Regions from separate parts of the Homo sapiens genome. Here regions 1, 2 and 3 are each linked to region 4. Evidence: promoter capture Hi-C in 16 types of primary human blood cells and fetal thymus (Javierre and others, 2016). All regions are on one chromosome and are shown on one strand. Each heading gives the region's core, a stretch centred on a gene start or on the middle of the fragment in contact. The rest is flanking DNA. Distances are from core to core; before and after follow the strand shown.

Region 1 (6,171 bases), core at 3,432-5,931, about 12 Mb before region 4:
CCAATGCACCAAGAACTGTCACTCCAAGAAACTAGCATGTTTATCAGCCTTTGCAACTTCTTCAGATGTAGATAACAGAAACACTCCCTTTCATGTATTTTGCCACCAACTATTCTCAAATTGGGGAACCAAAAAATCTTGAAAAGTAAGCCTTGATTCTACCCCACCAATGAAGCCTCTGGTTTTAACACACAGTAAATTGTAACAAAAATTGTTACCTACAGACAAAATGTTTATTTAATATAATTATCCCAAAGAATTTCCCCAATACTAATAACATTCATCTGCATTTCTTATTTAATGGATTTTTAATGGGAAAGAGGAGTTCTAAAAACGAACATTTCTTTAGCATCTTCCTTATGTCAAAAGTGATATACAATTTATATCATTTAATCTTAACTACTCCATGAAGAAAATATTATTATCCCATTTTTAAAGTACTCTTTAGTAGTAGCCCTATTTTAAAGTACTCTTTTAAGTGATACTACATGAGAGTCACAGCAGGAATTGGAACCCCAATTGGTCTGACTCCAAAGATCATTTACTTTACACTCTGGCCTCTGTTCAATGATAAGACAACATGTATAGCCTTTTACACAATAATCATGATCCCGCAAAATGTATATCAAGTAATTTCTATAAGTGAAAATCTATTTTAAGTGTATGGGTAGGCACTTTATCTAAAAGCTTTATTGCCTCATTTGTGAAATGGTTGGGGGAACTACTTAGCTGCATGGTTATTTCCAACTTGAAAAATATTAAGATTTGGTGGCACATCGTGGAAAGTCTTATACAAAATCCTTCTGAATCATGGACTCTTTCTCCTATGAGCTTCTATTTTCTAAAATCATAAATTATGCGACAGAAAAAAAGGTATCAACCAATACCGTCTGGTTATATGGTTGGATATCAAATACAGTTATATATTTCCGCTTTATTTCTCAAGACTACATCTATCACAAAGTGGGATAGATTTCATTTATACTTTTATAAATGTCAATTTAAAACAAGCAGGAGGAACATTAGAAATATCTGAATGTCTTAATCCTAAAGAATAGTTTTGACAGTCTTAAATCTCATTCAAACTTTCATATAATTTGCCTCATGTATTTGGTGACATATTCTTCTTTTTAAGCTTTTAAATGCATTAGAAAAATATTTACACTTTCAAAGAGTTTCTTTTTCAACATCAAAAGAAAGAAATCAACTAAAACTTTAGTCTGGATTTGAAAGCAGAGGAGCCTTGAAGACATTACCCAACTCTTGCACTGGAGCTGATGTGTAAATCTAGGAAATGATCGGTAATTTCATAGTAAACAAAGAGTAGTAACTGATTATTCCTATTATGCCAGTGCCAAGCCAAAAATAGAATATAAACACAATGTCCAAGGGAGCAACACAAGAAAACCAAGGTGCAGAAGCTCCATTACATTCTCACTTTTTCTAATTTTGACTCTGCTTCCTGCTTTGTGGGAGGAGGAGGAAGAGCAGGAGGAGGAGGAGGAAGAGCAGGAGGAGGAGGAGGAGGAGGAGGAGGTATATGGTGAAAAAGAGGGAAAAATAAATAAAAAGAACAAGACCAGAAACTAACTAGTATAAGATTATACGTTTTCTTTAAGACATAACCCATAAAGAAATCTACTACAAAATTACAGTAAGGGTTCTACCCCCATCTCCCACTTATAACAATTAAAAGATTGTAATATAAAAATTCCCAAAACATGTACCTTTCAAATAACACACATTTTTAGAATACTTTAAAAATCTATAATTCTCTAACGCTTGCAACTGATTTTGGCCAATGTTCTAAACACTGAAGGCTTGGAAAGATATCAACAGATTTCCTCTCCAAAACAGTCAGCAAGAGGAAAAGGAATCCATGTGAAATTCTTAGAAGATAGACTAAATGCTGCATAAAAACAAAGACTGAAGTAAATAGAGCAAAGGCTACAAGATATAATAAATGCTTCCAGTTATAAGAAGCTGAAACAGAATGCAGTGGGACATTATCCCATAAGCAATAAAAATAGGAAAAAACCAAGCAGTGGCCAAGAGCTGCCCACAGACTTCTGGATAAGAAAGTCATGGGTGACTAAGCAAAAGACACCCAACATTTCACTGCAAGTGGAGCTTCTACAAATAGAAAAGTTTGCAAACATTAACTACCAAATGTATCGAATTTCTCAGGTGATAGTTATTATCACAGGTAAATAAGAATGCCTTTCAAAAGAAGAGTGACTATATATCTCAATTCATAGTCAATACCCTGGCATAATTATTGAAAGCAACCCCCTTTAACTCTCAAAAGTGTCTCAGTTTGGCTGTTTCATTTGTTATCCTACTCAAAAGCAACATGGAAAGGCAATGACTTTTTTAAAAAGGGAAACACCCTTCTGCTTGAACGGTGAATTCCCATACAGGTCTGAGTTCTTTCTTCGGGTGTACCCACTTAGATATTCACTTATTCAGTCATTCAACAATGTTTCTTAAGTCTTATTATATATCCCCACACTATGCAGGCACTGGTGCACATATAAAGAGATGGCCTGAGACTGGGTCAGAGGGGAGGGCAGACATGGAAATAAATCCTTCTAATAACAGTAAACCTGAATGGCACTAGGAACCCAAAAAAGGGAGTGCCTTTCCCAAAAATATACAAAGCTCCATTTGGAAATGTTTATGTCCATACAAAATTCGTAAACACACAAAAAAGTCGTGAATCTCAAGCTTCAGCACAGATCACTAACAAAACAGCAGTAAGAAAAAATTTAACAACATTGATCACAAATCATAAGACTATAAATATGAGGACCAGCACATAGCCCTTTCAAATATTGGTAAATAAAAATCACATTCATCATTAAAGTTTATATTATGAAAGGACAAATTTTAGGCAGAGAAATTGGTACAGTAGAAGCTGTGAGTTCTAATTCTAGCTATCAAAACATTTATTTTCATTTTTTTCATGGCCCTAACCTGAAGCCCACCAAAACATTTTCAAGAAAGAAAAGAAAGAAAGAAAGAAAGAAAGGAAGAAAGAAAGAAAGAAAGAAAGAAAGAAAGAAAGAAAGAAAGAAAGAAAGAAAGAAAGAAAGAAAAAGAAAAACAGGTAGTATTTTCAGAGTGGCTATTTAAGAAGAGACCACTAATGGAAAAGCACTTGGAAAAAAAACATCAATTTTTAAAAATTCTTTCAAAATAGTGAAAATATTTTGTAACCACTAATCTCAAAGACCACTAAAAACAAGTAAAAGATGAACCAAAACATCTCTGGAGGAATACTAACTGAACACTAAGCAGAAATAAAATGGCTTAACTGTCAAAGTACAACACAACAATGAAAACAAAATGTTTAGCTGCACCTAGATGCTCATCTTAGAGGCTTCTTTCAAATATTCTTACTTTACCATTTGCAACTTGCAAAAAGTAAGTCATCAATACTCTTTAAGAAGAGTTAACTAGGGTGTGACTTTTCTGAAACCATCCTTGACCTTACAAACAAACCATTAACCTTGCCAACTTTGTAAGATAACCCATAATTCGTTCAGTAAGACAAAAATGTGTTTCTCTTTCTAGTATCAGTTCTTTTAATAGCAATCCACCCCCTTAAAGTGCAGCACTCATTATCTTTCCATTTCTGCTAGTAAAAATTAAACCTAGGTTACTAATATCTTCTTATCACGTGGTGTCATCCTTCTACTTTTAGAAAAATACTCAGTTTCACTGCAAATATGACCGACAGTAAGTGGAACTAAAGGTCAACATGCAGCCTTTACAAGAAATTTGTCTCTTAGGAAGTATCATCAAAATGGAACAGGTGTACACTGTGGAATTGGCTAATCTTTGGGAAGGCTTAAAACCAGGTACTCATTTTGATAGGCTGGTGACAAAATCAAAGTTCTCTCTGGAGGAAAGGAGCTGATCCCCCACCTCACCCCCAGCTACAAATCAGCAAAGAAATTTTAAACCCTGTACATAAAGCTTTATTACTCTAACCATATTAAGTACTTTTGAGTTAATTTTATAATAGCTCTCTAAAATACACAGAAATATACAAAGAAAATAAGCAAATTCATTGACTGTTATATAATATCAATAAATATATCTTATACACTGAAATAATTACTAACACTTTCATTTGCAATTAAATAAACTGTTAGCAAAAGCATATTCTATACATCAATTATTATCAAATTAACAGGTCTCTGTATTCATTAACTCTTATATTCCATCCTGTTCATTTTACTTTTCAGTTTATAATGCATTCACAGTTACATAATTAAAACACTGAGGATTCTGTGACACATTCATTAAACTTAATAGTGTAATCATAAATCGCGGCCAAAAGCTTCTGCCGTAATAACCAATACTATATTTTGAAATGACTGGGAAAATAAACTTTGCAAAAGGGTCATTTCTACCTCTATAGTGTCAATCCAGCATTACAGGATTTGAGAAAATAAAACAACTAACAACCCTAAATTGTAGGTTGGCTCTTCGGAAAAAAAAAAAAAAGGAAAATGAGTCTAGTAACATCAGAAATATGCAAGAATTGTTCTTTCAGCTAGGAGCGGCAAGCACACTGTAAAATGCCTCCATTCTTCCTGCTCAAATAAAAAGTTCCCAGCTCCAGCTTTACCTGTGCACCACACACACACAAACACACACACACACACACACACACACGGAAATCTTGGTTCCACCCAAATCAGTAACCCACTGGGTTGAAAACTGAGGTGGAAGGAGAGGCAGGGAGTCCCTAAGCGTGTGGAACACTAGCAAGGGGAAAAGGACGGGGCCATCATTCCCTTCGCGTTCCCATCTCCTTTCTGGCGGAGACCTGCAGATTCCACCACTAGAGAGAGTTTGGCAGCTTCACAATGGGGCCGCGTTGCTGGAGGTCTGACTGCCACCCGCCTCGAAACCCCTCTCCTCCGCTTCCCACCTGCCCCAAAGTCCACCCGCGACAGGTGGGGCGAGGGTGGCAATGCCCGACATCTGCCGCTTAAGCTTCTGGCTCGGACCGGGCCCCAATCCACACGCGCACACACGGCCACAGCCGGCCAGTCCACCCCCACTGCACCGGCAGACACTCGGAGGGCGCGGGCGGCCTCGCACGCGGGTTGCAACCAGGACGAGGAGGGTCGGCGAGATCAGACCGCCGGGGCTCGCCCTGAGGTGCTATCTGACCCGGGCAGTCGCACCCTGAGCGCGGCCGGGCACGCAGCCAAAGGTGCCGCCGGCCGGGGAAAGCTACTTCTCAAAGGGGCCTCCAGGCCCGCTGCCCCGCGGTGCGGGAACAGCGGCCAAGGGAGGGAGCGAGCGAGCGTGCGCGCCAACGCGCCCCGACTTCCGCACCGCGGCACCGCGGGAGAGGCGCTCCGGGTCGCCGAGTCCCCGCACCTCCCCAGCGAGCGCACGACGCGCGCACACGGGGGCGCACGCCCCCGCACACTCACACGCGCTGCACACTCACGGCGTCTGCGGCCCCACCCCTGTGCCAGGGAACCGCAAGCTCCCCGCACCCCGCGCGGGCCCCACCCAGTTTACCAGACCCCAGTCCCCTTCGGGTGCCTGGGAACCGGTCCACCAAGGCCAAGGGACGCTGGGGCCGCCCCGCCGCCCATCGCAGAAGCTGGTCCGGCCGGGTTTCCCCAGCACCGCGGGCATCGTGCGCCCGGCCCAGACACGAGGCGGAGAGGAAGGGGCGGCGCCGCGATTAGGGCTGGCACTGGGGATCGGAGCCTGGGGCAAACCCACTCCCCCAAGCCCCCCATAACCACCACCTTTTCTGCAGCACAAAAGGTTACAGACGGAGCCGTCGTCCCCGTGCAACCTACCGATGGCCCAGGGCTCCGCTGCCTCCGCCGTGCCCGGGGCTGCGGAGCGGGAGACAGGGGCGGGAGAGGCGCAGGACTGCGGCGCCGAGATCCAGGCAGAGGCCGCCAGCCGAGCCAGCCGGGTACCCTCTCCTCTCCCACCGCGCTCGGCGCCAGCTACCGCCCTGCTTAGTCCCCGCCCCCTCCTCCGCCTCCTCCTCCGCCTCCTCCTCCGCCCGCCTTCCCGCCTCCTCCCTCTGGCTGCAGAGGCGCAGCCCGTCAGCGCTGAGCCCGCCTCCTGCGCCCAGCTCTCAGACACCCGGAGGAAGGGCGGGCCGGCTGGCTGCAGAAA
Region 2 (5,992 bases), core at 2,190-4,689, about 12 Mb after region 4:
GTAGTCCCAGCTACTCAGGAGTCTGAGGCAGGAGAATCGCTTGAACCCGGGAGGGGGAGGCTGCAGTGAGCCCAGATGGTGCCACTGTACTCCAGCCTGGGAGACGGAGCAAAACTGCTTCCAAAAAAAAAAAAAAAAAAGAAGGCGCGGAGGGCGGGGGTGCATTTCTCCACCAATCTCAATTGCATTAATAGTAAAAACAGTAACTTGCTTTGAGAAACTACGTGTAGTAGTATCCATTAGGGAAAACTGGGTCTATTTTAAAAGACTTTTTTAGTAAAGTTCCTTCAGCAGAAGCTAGTGAGCAGGCATGAATTACACATTTCCTACACATTCTAGAGCCCCATATGTATATCCATTCAGACCCTTTCTTCCACTTTTTTTTTGTTATTTTAAGGATTAGTTTGAAAAGGCTTTTGTACTTCTACAGTAAGTACAAAAATACAACGAACATTCCTGCCCAGAATCTTTATTTCTACCTAAAACAGCAGTGAAACCTGAGCCATCTGTAAAGACCTGAGGTAGTCCAAAAAAAAAGAAACAAAACACTTCTAAAAAACCTTTTAAAAATAAATTTGCATCCGATAGTCACTAGGTGCTTTTTCACTTAGGTCACTCGTTTAAAAATGAATTTAAAATTTGCGTAGGTTGCCACACTGCACAAAGAAGAATCAAAACAGATCAACTTTGCTCCGTAAGACAAACTATTTTAAATAAAGGTGACAAGGACAAAGAAGAGTTGACATCTGGGCAGTTATTGCTGGAAGAGCTTTAGGGGTAGAAAAATGCTCAGGTAGCCCATGCTTACAGAACACTTTTCTTAGTGGCTTTAATTGCGCATTACCAGTACTGAGTAGTACACAGAGCGCACTTACTACTTTTGATAAATGGGGGAGGAAATAAAGACGAAGGTCCTTCAGAGAGTCAATTAAGCAGCCACCGAGAGGGATGAAGGGCAAGGTAGATCAGGAACCCCTCTTGGTTTCCGCTTGTCCAGAAAAACAACCGTCCTACTGCGCACACCCGACACCGAGGCTCCAGCCTTTGGTTTGGCCAGTAAACCAAAAGCGACCAGTAGAGCCCAGACTAGGAGCTCACTCACTCACCTCCTGGATGCGCTTCCTGGCCCGCTGAAGCACTTCTTCGTAGCCCTTCTGCCGCAGCTCGCTGAGGCTTTCGTAATACTCCTCGGGATCATCGGTCTCGGTGAAGAGCACCTGGGAGAGGATCTTCCAGCCGCAGGTGTCCAGGCCGTGGCCCAGGTAGACCTGGAGCTGGTAACACAGAGTGTCGATTTCCTGCTCGGTCATCTCGGGGGCGCCCCCAAACAGCACAGTCCACATGCCCGAAGGTTCCTCGGGGAACACCGGCAGGCACGGCTCCAACTGCGAGTTCACCGAGCACAGCTGCTGGTGCACGGCGCGCAGGTCCTGGAAAGAAAACAGTCCGGCCCAGCTGCACTCTTCGGCCGGAGACTCCAGCTCGGTGGCGGGCGGCGGCTGCTCCGCGTCCGAGAGCGCCAGAGGTGCCTCGTCCTCCTTCACCATTTCCAGCACCTCTATCTCCTCGGAGACCGTCCCAGAGGCGCTCACTATCCGTACAGAGGACACCTGGGCCTCTCTGGGCGCCGGCCGGGCTGCTGCAGCGGCTGCCCCCGCCGCATCGTCGGCTTCAGATGTTTTCTGACCCGGGATGGGTTTGGCCCGCACTGGGCTCCTAAGACGACTCTCCGCCCCTTTGCTGCCAGGACTCCGCAGCCGCGGGTCCCCCAGAAGGCTGCGAGTGCTCCGAGGAGAGCCGCCCTCCGCCCAGGCCGAGCTCCGCCGGGGCCCGGGGCTCCTAACCAGAGTTGCAGAGGCAGTGGCCTCGGGCCGACCCCTGCCCGCCGGGCTGCCGGGCCCGCGGCTCCCGTCGGACGCAGCTCCGCCGGCCTCGGCGCCCCCTCGCGCCCCCGCTTGCTCCCGGGAGCCGCTCCTCTGCCTCTGGGCCGTCCGGTTGTGGCAGGTTATGGCAAACTTGCCCTCAATCTCGTTCCAGGCCACAATAAAGACGAATTTGTGTTTCTCGCGCTCGTCGAACACATGGGGCCGCACAGCCACCCAGTCCGACTCGAGCGTCTCCTCCAGCGCGAACGACATGGTGGCTCCGGCTTCTCGCCGCGGGGAAGGGCCGCCGGCCCGGCCCGCCCGAGGACTCCCCGCTGGCTGCGCCGCGCCCCCCGCTCACCCTCGCCGGGCGCCTTCAGCCATCTTAGTGCGCCGGCCGGCTCTCCCGGCTCGTTCGCCTGTCCCTCCGCGCCCCGACCGCCGAGCTCCTTTGTGGCGCGGATCGAGAGAAGGACAATAAGCGTCCCGGGAGCAGGTAGTTCACATGGTCACCTGCGGCCGGATCTGTTTACAAGCTCCGCGCTGCCGCAGCGCCTCGCGGCCGCCCGCCGCCCCCCGCGCGAGGCCGTGGAGCTGCGTCTGCGGCGCTCCGGTGGTGAGGCGCGGGTCCCGCGGGGTCAGGCCGGCGCTGTATGCGTCCCGGTCGCTCGCCCAGGTCAAGATCCCCGCCCCCGCCCCTGGTGCTGCTGCAGAAAGCCCGGAGCCGGCCTGACTGATGAACCCGTCTCCTAAACTCTGCGCCTCAGCATCGCCACAATGTTGCCATTCGACTGCTGACGTCGGCGGCTCCACGAGGGACGTAAACATGGGCACGTGCCGCACGCTGGTGACGCGGCGGCGGCGGCGCGCGCACCCCGCCCGCGCGCGCCGGCGCCTCCTCTCGGCGTCCCCTGAGCCAGCCCGCGAGCGGCCGCGCTCCCGACTCTCCTTCCTTCCGCGCAGCCTCCAGTTCCCCGGGGCTGGAGCCGGCTGTCGGCTGGTTGCCGGCTCCGAGGGCGATGAGAGTGGCAGGTGTGCCCTGCTGCACAGGTGGCCTCCGAACCCGGGAAAAGAGGAACTAAGGCGGAGGAACTGAGACGTTTCGAATTCCAGGTATTGAGACCCTCGAATGTACATTTGCCTCCATTCTCCTGGAGGGAGCCCGGACGGAGAGTCGCTCCTGCGTTCAGAAGTAGCGTGTTGCCGCGGGGAACGGTGTGCTGAACTATGTGGGGCTCGCCCCCAGCCTGTTAGGTTCTCCCCTAATGCCCTTGAGACCAAAACAAAAAACAAAAACAATTCCAGAAGCTTTTCTGGAAAGACAGAGTTTAATATATGAAAGGAAGGTGTCTGAGGAAAGCCCAGTAACAGTCCAAAACAAAATGAAAAATGAAAATGCCATGTCCTAACAGCATGAATGTTTACATTTCAGTTCATTGGTGTTTTATTGCTTCAGGTTTCATCATTATGTACTGTTCTGTGAACCTCGTTTTGAGGTCACTGGGCTTTAGCCCTTTTGAAGTTGTATTCAATTATGGGAGTTCCCAGAATGCATATACAAAAACAGTCATATCAATCTCTGCTATTCTTACTAAACTATGATGAAACACATTCTTAAAATTAGTAGACTTTATAATAATTATTGGCATTCTTTTTCCGATTAGTATTCAAGTCACAGATGTTGTGCACCATAGTAAAGCACAATGGAAATTAGTTCTTTTACATTTATTCACATTTCTAAAGTATATACAAAACCGTTTGGATTAGCCTTGTATTGTTAGGTTCAGTAAAAACAGCTGTTTATTCAGATGACAGAACAGTACTGAACTAGCTAAGCTTCAAACTTAGTTCAGTATTGTCCATCTTAAACTCTAAGCTTCAACACTTGGTTCAGTATTGTCCTGATATTTGAATAAACAGCCAAAAAAAATTTTTTTTTTGAGACAGAGTCTCACTCTGTGGCCCAGGCTGGAGCACAGTGGCACGATGTCAGCTTACTGCAGCCTCTGCCTCCCGGGTTCAAGCGATTCTCCTGCCTCAGCCTCCCAAGTAGCTGGGATTACAGGCACACACCACCAAGCCCGACTAATTTTTGTATTTTTATTAGAGACGGGGTTTCTTCATGTTGGCCAAGCTGGTCTCGAACTTCTGGCCTCAGGTGATCCGACCGCCTTGGCCTCTCAAAGTGCTGGGATTACAGTCGTGAGCCACTGAGCCCAGCTGGTTTTTAACATTTTGTACAGTTCATTATTTGAAACCACAAATTTTCAAAGTTTGTAACTGAGTTTGTGTCAAATCTCAAATGCAAGTCAGAGACACGTTCTGAAAGGCAAAAAAGAGAGAAAACCCATTTCAAATCTGAATTACGGGGCTGGGCATGGTGGCTGACGCCTGTAATCCCAGCACTTTGGGAGGCTGAGGTGGGCAGATCACTTGAGGTCAGGAGTTCAAGACCAGCCTGGACAACATGGTGAAACCCCGTCTCTATAAAAAATACAAAATTAGTCGGGTGTGGTGGCACGTGCCTGTAATCCCAGCTACTTGGGAGGCTGAGGCAGGAGAATTGCTTGAACCCGGGAGGCGAAGGTTGCAGTGATCTGAGATCATGCCACCGCACTCCAGCCTGGGGGACAGAGACTCCACCTCAAAAAAGAAAAAAGAAAAAAGGTTTGAATTACCAGCTAAGCAAACAATAGCACATTGTAGAAAACTTTCTCTTCTTTTTTGCTAAAAAGCAACTGCAAAAAGCTAGTTTTTCTGATAAAGCATTACTGACATGATCCCATTATGTATAATTGTGAATACAGAGAATGAGTATTAAAAGAATTTGTTTACAAGTTCTCTTCAGAGTAGAGGACAAGAAAAAGAAAAAAATTATTATTTAAAAAAATAGTCCGGGTGCGGTGGCTCACGCCTGTAATCCCAGCACTTTGGGAGGCTAAGGTGGGCAGATCGCAAAGTCAGAAGTTCGAGACTAGCCTGGCTAACATGGTGAAACCCCGTCTCTACCAAAAATCCAAAAATTAGCTGGGCGTTGTGGCAGGTGCCTGTAATCCCAGCTACTCGGGAGGCTGAGGCAGGAGAATCGTTTGAACCCGGGAGGCAGAGGTTGCAGTGAGCTGAGATCGTGCCATTGCACTCCAGTGCCTGGGCAACAAGAGCGAAACTCCGTCTGAAAAAAATAAAAAATAATAATATTTTGGCTGGATGGCTGGACACAGTGACTCATGCCTGTAATCCAAATGCTTTGGAAGAATTGCTTGAGCCCAAGAGTTTAAGAGCAGCCTGGGCAACATGGGGAGACCCTGCCTCTACAAAAAAATAAAATAGACCGGGCGCGGTGGCTCCAGCCTGTAATCCCAGCACTTTGGGAGGCTGAGGCGGGTGAATCACCTGAGGTCGGGAGTTCGAGACCAGCCTGACCAACATGGAGAAACCCCATCTCTACTAACAATACAAAATTCACCAGGTGTGGTGGTACATGCCTGTAATCCCAGCTACTTGGGAGACTGAGGCAGGAGAATCTCTTGAACCCGGGAGGCGGAGGTTGCGGTGAGCAGAGATTGCTCGATTGCACTCCAGCCTGGGCAATGAGCAAAACTCCGTCTCAAAAAAATAAAAATAAAAAATAAAATAAAATAAATAGCTGGCCATGGTGGTATGCACCTGTGGTCCCAGCTACTTGGGAGGCTGAGGTGGGAGAACTGCTTGAGCTCAGGAGGTCAAGGCTGCAGTGAGCCATGATCGCACCACTGCAGTCCAGCCTGGGCAACAGAGTGGGACTCTGTCTCAAAATAAATAAATAGACCAGGTGTGGTGGCTCATGTCTGTAATCCCAGCACTTTGGGAGGCCGAGGTGGGTGAATCACTAAAGGTCAGCAATTCGAGACCAGCCTGGCCAACATGGTGAAACCCCATCTCTGCTAAAAATACAAAAATTAGCCAAGCGTGGTGGTGGGCACCTGTAATCCCAGGCTGTAATCGGGAGGCTGAGGCAGGAGAATCACTTGAACCTGGGAGGCAGAAGTGGCAGTGAACCGAGATTGCGCCACTTCACTCCAGCCTGGGCAACAGAGCAAGACTTCGTCTCAAAAATAAATAAATAAATGGAAATAAAGAATGTTATA
Region 3 (6,324 bases), core at 3,699-6,198, about 18 Mb after region 4:
GTCTAGAGACCTTAAGGGATTGCCCGAGGTCACAATTAGCTAGTGACACACAGTGGAGATCAGCACACAGCTTTCTATTCTCCCTGTTCAACATGATATTTTTTCCATTTGTCAGAATAACAGCAAGAAAAGTAGACACATCTGACATTATCAACTTTTTTCTTTTTTTAATTAAAGATGGAGTCTTAGAGTCTTGCTATGTTGCCCAGGCTGGTCTCAAACTCCTGGACTCAAGCTATCCGCCTGCCTCAGCCTCCCAAAGTGCTAGGATTACAGGCGTGAGCAACCACATCCCGCCTCAACTTATTTTTAAATCAAATAGGTACTGGGGAAAAGAATATAAAACAGAGTAATTTCTAGCCAGATTTTAGAATTAAGAAAAAAAAAAAAAGGAGGTACACACAGCAATATATATGTTGTCAAGTATACATACTACCTATACATTCTTCTAATATGAACACATTTTTACTTTATTTACAAATGAAAAAAGCCAATTTACTTCTTCCACTGTAATTATGAAAATGCAATATGTGCAAAATGAGAAAAACATCTCAGTCCCAACTTGTTGAAAAATGTACCAAGGCCCCTTTTGAGGCCACATTATCTCCTTTCTCTAGTACTAGCAGCTATTTGCTGGGTAGTGGCATTTCAATCAAGAGAGTCACAGAAAAAGAGACAAGCCTACTAGATCTCAAATAACTGATTTTCAAAAGCTGCTGCAGATCTCTTAGGTAGGAGTAAAAGGAGTATGAGCTAAATTTCTGGGGTTAAATAAGATGGCACAGGGCTAAATACATAAGAGCTAAATTTCTGGGGTTAAATAAGATGGCACAGGGCTAAATTTCTGGGGTTAAATAAGATGGCACAGGGCTAAATAAATAAGATGGCACAGGGCTAAATACACAGAGCTCTCGAGTTCTGTGATTTCAGATCTGCCACTTACCACTTTGCCTTGAAAAATAAGTTAAAACTTTTATTTCATTGCTGTAAAGTAGGGAAAAAGCTAACTACCTTGTAGCATCATCTAGGGCATTAGAGTTCATATGTAACAGCACAGTGCCTGGCTCACATTAGGTACACAATAAATGATAACTGCTTGCCAGTCCTACCTATCAACTGTTTGAACAAAGACTTAGATATGCAATTCAAATGCACACTGATAAATTACAAAGAGCAACTGATTTTAAACAAACGTGATTCAAAACCAACAATATTGGTGAAAGCTATTTTTAAGAAGTACCTGCTGACACCAGAAGACCTCCAGAGGGGAAAAGTAGGACACTCTCCACTGGCTGCCCATGCTCAACGGAGAGAACACTCTCACTCGTTCGTGCATCAAACATCTTCACAGTATGATCATATGATCCTAAAATGTCAATTTTTGAATTTTTAGTTTGACTGTTTAAAACAACAAAAACTGTGTGTATCCAGATATAAATTTTAAAAGGAAAAAAAGCTTAGATGGAGTTTTAAAAAGACATATATGTATATTCATGAAGACACAGGACCTCCAAACCATCTACTACTGATCGTGTCTGAAGAAGCACTACATAATACTATACAGAATCTAACTTGCTCTGATCTTAAAATATTTCTTTCTTTGGACTACTGTCACTACTGAATCATCTGGAAATCTTTGTAAAGGCACCCACAAAGGCTAAACTGCACTCTTTGTTTCTTGGCTGCTTGAGGCAGGGTACTATACATTACAGTTCTGAGAGTCTATTATGTTTTCAAGACAGCCTGATTTTTCCAAACACATTTGGAAGACATGAACAATCAACAAAAGAAGAATAAGAAAATAAAAAACAATTGGAAGCCAGGCATGGTGGCTCACACTTGTAATCCCAGTCCTCCGGGAGGAAATTGAGGTAGGTGGATCACTTGAGCCCAGGAGTTCGAGACCAGCCTGGGCAACATGGCAAAACCGTCTCTACAAAAAAATACACAAAGTAGCTGGACGTGGTGGTGGGCACCTGTAGTCCCAGCTACTTGGGAGGCTTATGTGGGAGGATCACTTGAGCCCAGGAGGTAGCAGATGCAGTGAGCTATGGTCACATCACTGCACTCCAGCCTGGGCAACAGAGTGAGACCCTGTCTGAAAATAAATGCAAACATACATACATAAAAATTAATTTAAAAACTGAAGAATTAATCAGAAACATATTCCTTTATAAAAAAAATTTAAACCCCTCCATCCCAAAAGAGTCCCATAGCAACATTAAAGTACATCCCCGTGAGATTATTTGCTTCAGGAGGGAATAGAGTTCACCAACCTGTTATAAAGAGATCCGGATTAAGTTTGCTAGCACATCCACACCTCACATAATCAGAGTGTTCTTTAAATGTCAAAATTTCTTTGGAGTTTGGAATATCCCATAATTTAACTGTATAATCATCAGCCCCAGAGACCACGTGATATTTGTCAGCTGTAAAATCTACTGTATGAACTGCTCTGAAAGATTGAAGGTCAGTATATTAAAAAGCAAGAAAATTATTTTTCTGATACCTTCTAACATAAAATGCTCCTTTTTCTCAGATTAAAAAAAAAGCAGCTGAGTTTCAGGGAGTCTTCATAGGGGGAAATCATGAAAGAAAGAGAAAACTTACAAGTGTTTGCCCCCAAACCAATTAAGAAGTGTAAATACTCCTATATTGTAAAGTTAAAAAAAATTAAAGGATAGCCTTAAAATTATATTTTCTAGTATATAAACAATTCCACTTAGCTGCTGAATATGGAAGCAAAGGCACTTTAATTTTTAAAATTTCAAAAAGTTCTTTAAAAAACTCTAAAGAGATTTACCACTAAATAGAATCATGTTACATAAATTTCTGTTAAATTTTAACAAATTTCAGCACGGACATTGGCAATCCTGAAAACAAAGTTATAATATAAAATTGTGATGGCCACTTAATTTATTAAGGGGCAAAACACTATAAATTCAAGAAGAAAATCCACCTTCCTACTTGACTTCAACATAAGAGCCTCTAAGACAGTACAGGCCTATAGAGCTGTCATTACCAGCTGTAAGGTTGTCTTCAGGTCAGTAATTCATAATCTCAGCTGGGCCACAGACCCCACTAAAGTTAACCAAAAGCTACAGAGTAGCTCCCTAGATAAACGTGTATTTCCTAAAATATCACATACAATTCTAGGGAATTCATAAGCCCCATGAAACTGGACCACGGAACCCAAGTTAAGCACTCTTAGAACAATCAGGAAATATAGTACCTATAGGCAAATAATCTCCATAAAACTGATCTCTATCTTTTTAACCAAAGTCCAGAGAAAAAAAGAGCTTACAACAAAATAAAACCAGAACACACAGAAACCAACTGTCTCTTACTTTGTATGGCCTTCAAACTGCCTGAGGGGAGCCCTCCCACTTATATCAAAAAGTTGAACTCCACCATCTTCACTGCCAGCCACAAGCAATCTACCATCTTGTCGAAAAGTAGCACAGTATGCTGTGTCTTTAAATCGAGAAAAGGTTTTTATAGGTTCTTGGGAGTATCGGCCATAAATGTGAATCTACAAGATGAAAAACAGTATTTCACCAGATGGCTCAAGATCAGTAGTAAACTATACAAAAGAAAAATAAAGAAATTTAATATTATACTTACTCTTGAGGAAGCTGTGACAGCATAATTATATGGAGGCTGAGGAGAAAAGTCTACTTTTGAAACTGCACCAAATTCCTTAATCTGAACAGGGGTCTTAATAAAAAATAATAGTGTGTTAACAGAGTTACCACTGGTAAGACCTATTTATGCATTACATAATTTCTTACAGACCGTTTCTCTTTGTTCTTAGTAACATTTCTTAAGTTGTATTTAACATAAAATTACAAAGAAAGCAAAAAAGGTACATATCTCATCACCCAGACTATTCTTGTTGCCACTGAAATAAACATATGGTTAGAAAGCCACACCCCACTCTGTCTCTTCAGCTATTGAGTTTACTGTGATTTCTACCAGAAAAAAAAAGTTATCATGTCTACACCAGCATACAATAACCACGTACTTGTACTTTTAAAATAACAAAAAGATAATCATACCATGTAGGCTGTTCCACATCTTGCTTCTTTTCACTTAGTAACACATATTAGCTTTCATAGGAGCAATAGACTTACCATCCATTATAAGGGCACACTGTAATTTACTATACCAGTCCACTACTAATAGACATGGGTTTTTCAAGATTTCTACTATTACAAGCAATACTTCAATAAACATCTTTACACATATGAGATTCAAATTTTAAAATTTAATTCATTTGGCATTGATTGATCATCTGTTCTGTGCTAGGCATTTGTATGGTTAATCTGATTAAGCAGTATGGACTTTTACATAAAATTCCAAGAAAAAATAGATATCAAATTATCTGCCCAAACTATAAGCTGCTGATAGATGGTTTTCAGTTAATAATTCTCTGTTAGAGCATCCAGAGTATAACATATGCTAGAGAAATTGGCATAAACACAAATCCCTTCTCCCTCATTACGTCCCACACTCACCTTATAGTTGTTCCAGTACAGTGTATCTTGGGTGATTTTTTCACCAAGTATAGGATATGTCTGAATAGCTACAGGCTTATAACCAGCCATAATTCCATATAATTGCACTATTGTCCAAGAGTCACTATTTTGGAATTGGTATTAGAAATAATTACAGTGACTCTGCCTTAATTCTGAAAAATAAAATATTTTATATACATATTATAAGCTTGTACACATAGTTGATTTTCACTCTGCTTTCTTTAAAAAGTCTGTGTGGAAGTATATAGATTAGAGACCAATAAGCCATTTAATTCTAACCCAGAAAAGGCAATCTATAGGAAGCAGGAATAATTAAAGTGAAGGCTATCATATCGCACCATCTATTCAGCTGTACACAAAGGTTCTCACACCTAGCCAACCATTTTACAACACTTAGGAATAAATCTAGCACAGCCTTACAGTAGCCAAACCAAAAAGGATCATGCTGGCTTTGAGTGTCCATTTTTTGGCAACAGGAAATATTAAGGTGAAACTGCAAATACAAGTTTCCTGAAACCAAGTTTAAGATGACATTTAATCTATAACAATTATAGTTACGGATTTGATTTCCTGAAAGCCTAAAAATGCCAAGAAGTAAGAAACACAAAGCTAATATTCTAATGTAGAAGCTTAAAATTAAATTTACTTTAAAAGGTTTAAACAGTAGGAAAGAAAACTGTAATAAAGCAGTCCTGAAATTAAATTCAACACTAAAGTGGCAGAATAGGATAAAACTTTTAAATAACATGCAATCAAGCCAAAACATTTTTCCAGAACGACTCAATTGCAAAAGAGATTCAATGTTATCAGGTAAATGATTCCAGAGGTGCTGCTCATCATCTATTCCAAAAAGCCTGAAAACTTTACATTAGTAACACCACGATAAATAGGTGTAACATATATTTAAAAGGTGCTTTAATGAAATACAATGACCAATGATTGTATTTCACTGGTCTTTGGGAACACTCTTCTGTTCATTAAAGTACCTACCAATGTGCAGGACACTGCTCTAGGCACTGGGGCTATAATGGTGAATGAAATAAAGACATGGTCTGTGCCTTTGCTTACTCCAATATACTCCATTTTGGCTGGTGACTGGCACCAGATATTAACCTAGACTCAGCCTTGACGTGTCCTTTTCTTCCTCACTCCTAACATCCAAATAGTTAACAAGATCTGCTGATTTTATCTCCCAAATATTTTAAAACTCCATTAGGTTCACTTCACCTGAGGGAGCCTCGTAAGCAAAGGCAAAGATGGAAATGTGTCCATTGCCTTGGAGAGTTGCTGATTACTCCGGGAACTAACAACGGTGGACAGGAAAGGGTGTAATCGCAGAGAAGAACCTAGGTCGAAGCTTAATTGAGGGGAACTTGAGCCGGTTAAAGAATTTGGCCACTCTCCTATATAGCCTGGGAAGCCCCAGAAGAGCATGCCAGATTAACACAGGAAGGCCGGGTGTGAGTGTGGGCTTCCCTCAATGGGAGCCGCCTTCACCTACCTCCACTGAGCCCCAAAGGGTCCGACGAGACACCTCGACCCAAGGACAATTAATCGGACTGTGCCAGCTCCCTACCCTGCACAGTTCAGCAGCACTGGCGTAAAAATCACATGGACCCTCAAGGAGCCGGCGACACACACAGCGAACCGAACGTCGCGCGAAGATGACGTACCAGAGCACGCTCATGAGACTCACGCAGCCCGGCGGCGCAGAGGCGGGTCAGGTGGGCGGGGCGATCTGGAGTAGGAGGTGTGACCGGAGGGCGAAATTGGGGCTTCCTCTGCT
Region 4 (6,514 bases), core at 2,548-5,047:
AATTATACTATTTATTAATGAAGGATATCAGAATCCAAATTTGATAGTGAGTTTCATCACAAAATCCATAACATATTTAAAAGTCTATTAAGTATGAAGAACATAACAAACATAATATGCGTTATGTTTGTAATAGCTCTCAAAGCTAAAAAACAAATACTACTCATTTTGCTAATAATACAGCAAGTCTTCTGTCCAGTCTGCATGCCAAATTTGCTGCACTGTGACGATATTAAAGAGTTAAGTCAGAGTTACAAAATCTTGAAATACAGAATTAAGACCAAAGGAAAAAAATCCCCCTTAGTCCCATAGCACTCGAGCCTATCAGCTGCTAGTTAAAATAGATTAAGCATAGATTTCATATTTTTCTTTATGAAACAGATTCTGACTACTGGTAGGTTTTTTTTTTTTTCAACCAAACACCAAAACTTCCAGTTGAGATGGCTTCCTTTTTTTTTAAAAATAAAAATATTGAGCATGTTGATATAATATGCAAAAAACTCCAAACTTGGCAGTAATCTTAACATATCTCCTCAATATCATACAACTTGACAGCAATGATCATTTATCAGTCTTTGATAGAGTTCTTGAGATTGAGTTCAAACTTTAATATATTAAGGTGAAAGAGCCATTTGACTCAAAAGCTAATATAAAAAGAGATTCCTACTTAAGCTCTGAAGAAGCAATGAAAGGGGAAGGGAAGCTAGTTATTCAGTCTAGTTGGAATTTTACTCAGTAGTGCCAACTGCATCTAGTGGAGGGATTAGAAAAAAGCAAAGGAGATAACATAGTAGTGGGATGTTATTCTGGGCACCAAAAGCACATGTAACTGCATACTGGCAACAGTGAGACAAGCTAACAAAGGGGACAGAAGATGTACTTGACAGGATTATAGAGAGTTAGCAGATGAGTAGGAGGAGATGGCATATGAGACGTAGGCTGGGGAGAAGTAGGAAAGAGCCTTGATGGTAAAGACGAATAGTTTAAATATAATACAAAATACAATAATGGCCCAGTGAAGCAAGCTGAGAAGCCCAAGATAATGTCTACAGTACAGCATTTCAAGCTGTCTAAGGAGTAGCTATTTAGACAAAAAATCTGAAAGGGGGAAGTTATGAAAGCGACAAGAGAAAACATTCAAAATTTGGTCCAAGCGTTTTTGTTTTTGTTTTTGTTTTTAAGAATTGAAAAGATAAAGCGAGACCAGGCGCAAGCGGCTCATGTCTATAGTCCCAGCACTTTGGGAGGCCAAGGCGGGTGGATCTCTTGAGGCTAGGAGTTCAAGACCAGCCTGGCCAACATGGTGAAACCCTGTCTCTACTAAAAATACAAAAAGTAGCCAGAGGTGGTGGTGCGTGCCTGTAATCCCAGCTGCTCCGGAGGCTAAGGCAGGAGAATCGCCTGAACCCGGGAGGCAGAGGCCGCAGAGAGCCTAGATTGTGCCACTGCACTCCAGCCTGGGCAACAGAGTGAGACTCCATCTCAAAAAATAAAAATATAATGAAAATGGCAGCTGGTAAGAATTTCTTGGAAATTTGCCAGTTACCTAAGTATTTAAGAAGACACAGTAAAAAGAAAATTTTAAAAATAGCAAAATAAATAATAAAGACAACTATTCAAAAGATCCTGAAAGCTTCAAACACAAAGAATAATGTACTACACAGTGACAGGAATGAAACATTTAATATTTTAAAACAATTTTCCAAACTACAAATAAATTTCTTAGACTTCTTTTTTATTAAATGCAATTCTGGTGTATTTATATAGCTAATTCTTATTTTTTCTGAAATGAGTTATATTCTAATTAAATAAATTTTACTAAAAAAATCCGAATTCAGCTGTTCACTAACCCTTAATAATTTTTAACATAAATGTAGACACAAATGTGCAATGAATTTATGTATTCATTATGGACTACACTTTTAAATCCATTCCTTGCTCAGTGGTTTTCGAATGCTTATTAAATATCATTGACCTTATGCTGAGGAAAAGCTGTCATTCTAGGAAATTCACCACTTCTACCACTAGGTGGAGAAAAAACACAAGTAGTATCTGTAATCAAAGCTAGTACAAGGCCCCAGGTACTTTACCTAGAATTTCCACCAGGTGTCAACCAAGAGGTAGGGAAAAGATAAGACTGTTTTTCCCACTTAAATATGCAAATTTATAATTTTATGCATAGCGATCTAAACTCTGAAATAAATGGCCTGCTCATTAATTGTCTAGTTTGCATATTTATACTCTTTATATATTGCTGTTGAGTCCAAGATATTGCCTTGTCAACTAAAATCCAACCCCCAAAAGCTTAGTTTCTTTTGAAATAAAACAGCAAGACCAATAAGTTTAGTTTATTGTGACTCATAGGCTCAACCTATCCATATACACTACGCAAAAGAATCTAAAACGTTTAGACACGGACAGCCAAAAATCTTCCAAGGTATTTTTGGTCATACATATATATATAGAGAGAGCACCAGATTCATATTTTTTCTTTCTACATTTCTCTTGTAAGGCAGTTCTGTTGATTGCCAGTAATCTAGATGAGTTTATGCTGTTATGCTCTGAATCCCAGTGTGATGTGACGAAAGCACTGCTATTTTTTACCAAACATTCACAATAAAAAGAGAAATGTACCTATATTTAAGATGTATCATGAGAATTACTACGTTAAATGGTCCAAGGCTCTCGGCCGAAAATTAAAGCTTCACACAGTTAAATCCCTATTTATATACCAAATCATGCTTTTTAAAAACAATTTTATGCGCTTCACTAATTTCTAACAAAGATTTTCCGATTCTGTTGCAAACAATATGTCAGCTAAACCACTATGTCATATGCCTTTTATAAGGTAGTACTTTTTTAGGCCGAACTCTATTCTTATTCCTCTGGACACAGGAGTTGTAATCATGTCTTACTCTGCAAATCTAGCCGTAGGTGGTGTCTTAAAAGGACTTTTTCTTCCTTCGAGGAAGTGATCAAGCTTCCCCCAGCCCCCACCCGTGTCATCCTGGAAACAACTTGGTTGTTTTTCGGTGCTAATTAAGCAATGTAGGAGAAAGAAGTTGAGGAGACAGCAAAGCCTATTGATTACATTGTACTTGCTTCTCTACCTCGCTCTTCAAAGGATTAAGGTTCCTTTGACCTCGACTGAGTTCATTTCCAACCTGCCTACAAAGTACTGGTTTAAAAAAAAAAAATCCAAGCAAAGTATGCTCTTGTCTATGAACAATATTTCTTGTCCGGTTTTATTACGTTTTCTTTGGAAATTCGTTAGATTATGCTCAACAATCGGCCGCTTGCCCAACCGGTTTCTCCCTTCCCCCATCTCTCTTCACACATCACTTTTTCCTCCTCCCATCCAGGCAGTTGGTAAAACGCTGCAGTGCCGGTAACGCACGCTTCGGGCTGGTCGCTGCAGTTTATCCTAACTTGGCTTTGCAAACTCCCCACCCAGCCCTTGTACCCTCGCACCCCACTCTGCCATTATCTTTCTAGTAGAGTGCGCTCGGTAACGGGCTCCAGATAGCACGTCGAGGGTATACGGTAGCCTGCCTACCAATAGGAGCCCACAATGAAGAGAAGTCAGGTTCAGCCGGCCAGCAGCTCCAGTATCTCCTTCCCCTAGCTCTACACCTACTGTACCCGGGAGCGAGCGGGCAAGGGAGCGAGCGCGGCGCGGCGCGGCGCGGGAGGGGGCGCGCAGGGAGGGCGGACAGCAGCCGCGGCCTGCGCCTGCGCACTGGGGTTGTTTTTCACAAAGCTGCTCTTAAAGTGAGCTGGCAGCTTTTAGCCGCCCGTCTTTGTAAGGAGACCACTGAGACGAGCGGGAGCGCGGAGCAGCAGCCTCTGCTGCCCTGACTTTTTAAGAAATCTCAATGAACTATTTGTAGAGAATCACTGATCCGGCCTGCAAGCATTTTGCACGGCAAAAATATCGATCAGTGTTAAGTGAAGATCACATTTTATATGCGATCTTGACTTTTTTGTCTTACATTATATTTTTATAGATTTTGTTATAAACATGGTGCTGGGAAAGGTGAAGAGTTTGACAATAAGCTTTGACTGTCTTAATGACAGCAATGTCCCTGTGTATTCTAGTGGGGATACCGTCTCAGGAAGGGTAAATTTAGAAGTTACTGGGGAAATCAGAGTAAAATCTCTTAAAATTCATGCAAGAGGACATGCGAAAGTACGCTGGACTGAATCTAGAAACGCCGGCTCCAATACTGCCTATACACAGAATTACACTGAAGAAGTAGAGTATTTCAACCATAAAGACATCTTAATTGGGCACGAAAGAGGTAAGTTTTTGTTATTCATAAGTCATTGGACTCATTTTCTTTGGAAACGTACCTTTTCAGTTTTCTGAATTAACGTGATTCTACTCCTAGCATAACTAAGCAGTTTGAGAAAGGTTAGCAAAGTTGGAAGGTTTGGATTCTCCTTGACGTTCATCGTGTGTTAAGCCGTAATGCATGCAGGCATCTGCAAAGTGACTGCAAACTACACTTATTCAGCTACCTCTGTACCCGGCTCGGTCTGTGCCACACGCACTTGTAGTCCATTTGCACCTTACTTATAAATTCTGTTTGAATCCAATTCAGTCGTTTTACTAATATATTTTCAAATGAATTGGTAAAAGCTGCAGTCTTAGATTTTTGCCCTTTTACTTGCAACCTAAGATGTAAAAACTGAACTTCGATCAAGAAATGTAATAACATTTTTAAGAGACTTAATGGGTGTGTTTCATTTTTAATATTGGAATGCAAAAGACTTTAAATAATTGATGACTGTTCTTTCATAAAAGATTTCTGTGGCTTATTTTGACATATGGTATCAACACCCCACGTGTTTTTTCTCTATTCTTTACCATTCCTTTAAAAATTTACACCCAGCATTCCTTATTTTAAAGGAATGACTATCTGTCATTATGATAGGTATCGAGTCAGGTTTAGAAGCCATTTAGGATCAGTAATTTTCTTTTCCGAGCATCATGTCTAACTTTGGAACGTGCATTCAATGAAACCCATGCCAGTCAAATGGAATTGAAAAGTATAGGGCACACTGGATTTGATTTTTGGTTAGAAGAGAGAGATAAAGGGTTGTCAAAAGGAGAAGGAGTCCTGAGATTTCCAATCTATTGTTTAAATGGTTACATTGTGGAAATATAGGAGACTCTAGGCTTGTTTTTCTAAGTTTCCACCCTTTGTTAGAAGCGGTTCAATCCTGTTTCGGACCAGTTCTGGGGGGTGGTGAGGAGGGGCGCTTGTTCTGCTCTCAGCAGATTGGTTACACGCGTCAGGTGGTGGCGATGACTTAATTCCTAGCCCAAGAAGAATATAATGTTAAAACTGGTTATGTAATTTTTGTGCCTCTCCTTTTTAATGCAGTATTTAGTTCAGATGTTGGCGATTTTTCAGAAAAAAAATTAGAGACATATTTTACCTTATTTTTTATATTAAAAACGTACATCCTGGAGAAGTGCTGATGACTAAGGCAAGTGAGAAATGAAGGATGCTTTGAGGGACAGTATTAATGCATTATTTTTGAAACTATTAAGGTGAACTCAGTTCTTTAGCAGGATTTTCGTAGTTAGATACAGGTACTTTGCATCCTGAAATAACTAATTAATCTCTCCAAGTGTTAACACTGATAGGAGATGCAAATGCCTAATGACAGCCTTGGTATTTGTTGAAAAGCAGATAGATGACTTTGTGTTTGTACCTTTCTGAATATTGCAGCCTTTTATGAAACGGATGAAAGAAAACAGATTTTTCCTCAAGGGGTTAAGACTTGCAGTGGGGAAAAGTAGAACAACGAGATGTGAGGACAAATATAATTTCATTAGTTGCACCATGATTTCGTGGTAAAGAAAACTAAATGCCCTGCACCCCCAACAAAATGCCCCCCAAACCCTGCAACGCGTAGACGAGCTCAGTCTGGAATAGTTTCAATGACTTGAAACTGGGAGCTCTCAAACTAGCCTGGTAACTGAGACCCCGCCCCGGGCGCCCGGGATAGGCGGAGCCAGGTTTGTTAGCCTGTTGCTAAGGCGATGGCAGGCGCTGATTGGATTGGGCGCGGGCGGGTGGGGAGAGTGAGCTCGCGCCGCGGCTGGGGCGAGGCTAGGAAACCGGCGTGCGCCGGTAAAGGTTCCTCCAGAGCGACCCCCACCCAGCCCGTACTCACGTTTGTTCCCGGGCTTCTGGGGGCGCCCAGCCCGTGTCAACATCATGTTCTGTCGCCCCTCTTTTGGGCCTCCTAAGGGCCATCGAAAGGAAACGACTTCAGGCTTTAACTGAGTAGAGGGCAGACGCTCCTGCCGGCCTTACAGGTGCTGGATGGCCATGGACCCAACTTTAGCAGAAAATCCTTTTCAGATGGAAGTTGGATGGGAAGGGTTGGCAGGACCCCCGTTAGCTATCTTCCGAGTGGGAGGTGTCAGGGGACTCCTGTGAACGCTTGTTTTCCCCTTAGCTGAAACAAAGCTTGTTCCCCGACCTCTCCAGTCGCC

The links. Contacts are between HindIII fragments. The CHiCAGO score rates a contact against its expected background, and 5 or more counts as called.
Region 1: a contact is called between a fragment that was not itself captured here and the fragment with the promoter of ARRDC3 in region 4, in 1 of 17 cell types (fetal thymus). The highest score is 6.4, in fetal thymus.
Region 2: a contact is called between a fragment that was not itself captured here and the fragment with the promoter of ARRDC3 in region 4, in 2 of 17 cell types (naive B cells and non-activated CD4 T cells). The highest score is 8.8, in naive B cells.
Region 3: a contact is called between a fragment that was not itself captured here and the fragment with the promoter of ARRDC3 in region 4, in 1 of 17 cell types (total CD4 T cells). The highest score is 6.3, in total CD4 T cells.

The regions. Positions count from the first base shown.
Region 1 is chr5:103,258,566-103,264,736 of GRCh38, reverse strand. It overlaps MACIR (macrophage immunometabolism regulator), which reads right to left and starts at 5,974. Exons shown (of 3, transcript NM_033211.4): 1 at 5,841-5,974. RefSeq lists silencers at 5,214-5,593, 5,804-6,171. The HindIII fragment of the contact is 662 bases long and covers 4,351-5,012 here.
Region 2 is chr5:79,232,797-79,238,788 of GRCh38, reverse strand. It overlaps JMY (junction mediating and regulatory protein, p53 cofactor), which reads right to left and starts at 2,658. Exons shown (of 11, transcript NM_152405.5): 1 at 1,107-2,658. The coding sequence starts at 2,138. It overlaps LOC124901011 (a long non-coding RNA gene), which reads left to right and starts at 2,766. Exons shown (of 2, transcript XR_007058836.1): 1 at 2,766-2,978. RefSeq lists silencers at 1,129-1,423, 1,707-1,976, 2,147-2,586, 2,617-2,666, 2,707-2,756 and enhancers at 1,097-1,516, 1,568-2,204. The HindIII fragment of the contact is 528 bases long and covers 3,176-3,703 here.
Region 3 is chr5:73,565,628-73,571,951 of GRCh38, reverse strand. UTP15 (UTP15 small subunit processome component) reads right to left here and starts at 6,209. Exons shown (of 13, transcript NM_032175.4): 1 at 6,040-6,209; 2 at 4,518-4,690; 3 at 3,625-3,717; 4 at 3,348-3,532; 5 at 2,277-2,455; 6 at 1,241-1,366. The coding sequence starts at 4,607. It overlaps ANKRA2 (ankyrin repeat family A member 2), which reads left to right and starts at 6,313. Exons shown (of 9, transcript NM_023039.5): 1 at 6,313-6,324. RefSeq lists enhancers at 5,944-6,324, 6,070-6,324. The HindIII fragment of the contact is 442 bases long and covers 4,728-5,169 here.
Region 4 is chr5:91,380,600-91,387,113 of GRCh38, reverse strand. It overlaps ARRDC3 (arrestin domain containing 3), which reads left to right and starts at 3,797. Exons shown (of 8, transcript NM_020801.4): 1 at 3,797-4,301. The coding sequence starts at 4,022. It overlaps ARRDC3-AS1 (ARRDC3 antisense RNA 1), which reads right to left. Exons shown (of 3, transcript NR_027435.1): 1 at 6,190-6,514. RefSeq lists enhancers at 3,031-3,330, 3,210-3,727 and silencers at 3,581-3,890, 6,036-6,105. The HindIII fragment of the contact is 1,076 bases long and covers 2,983-4,058 here.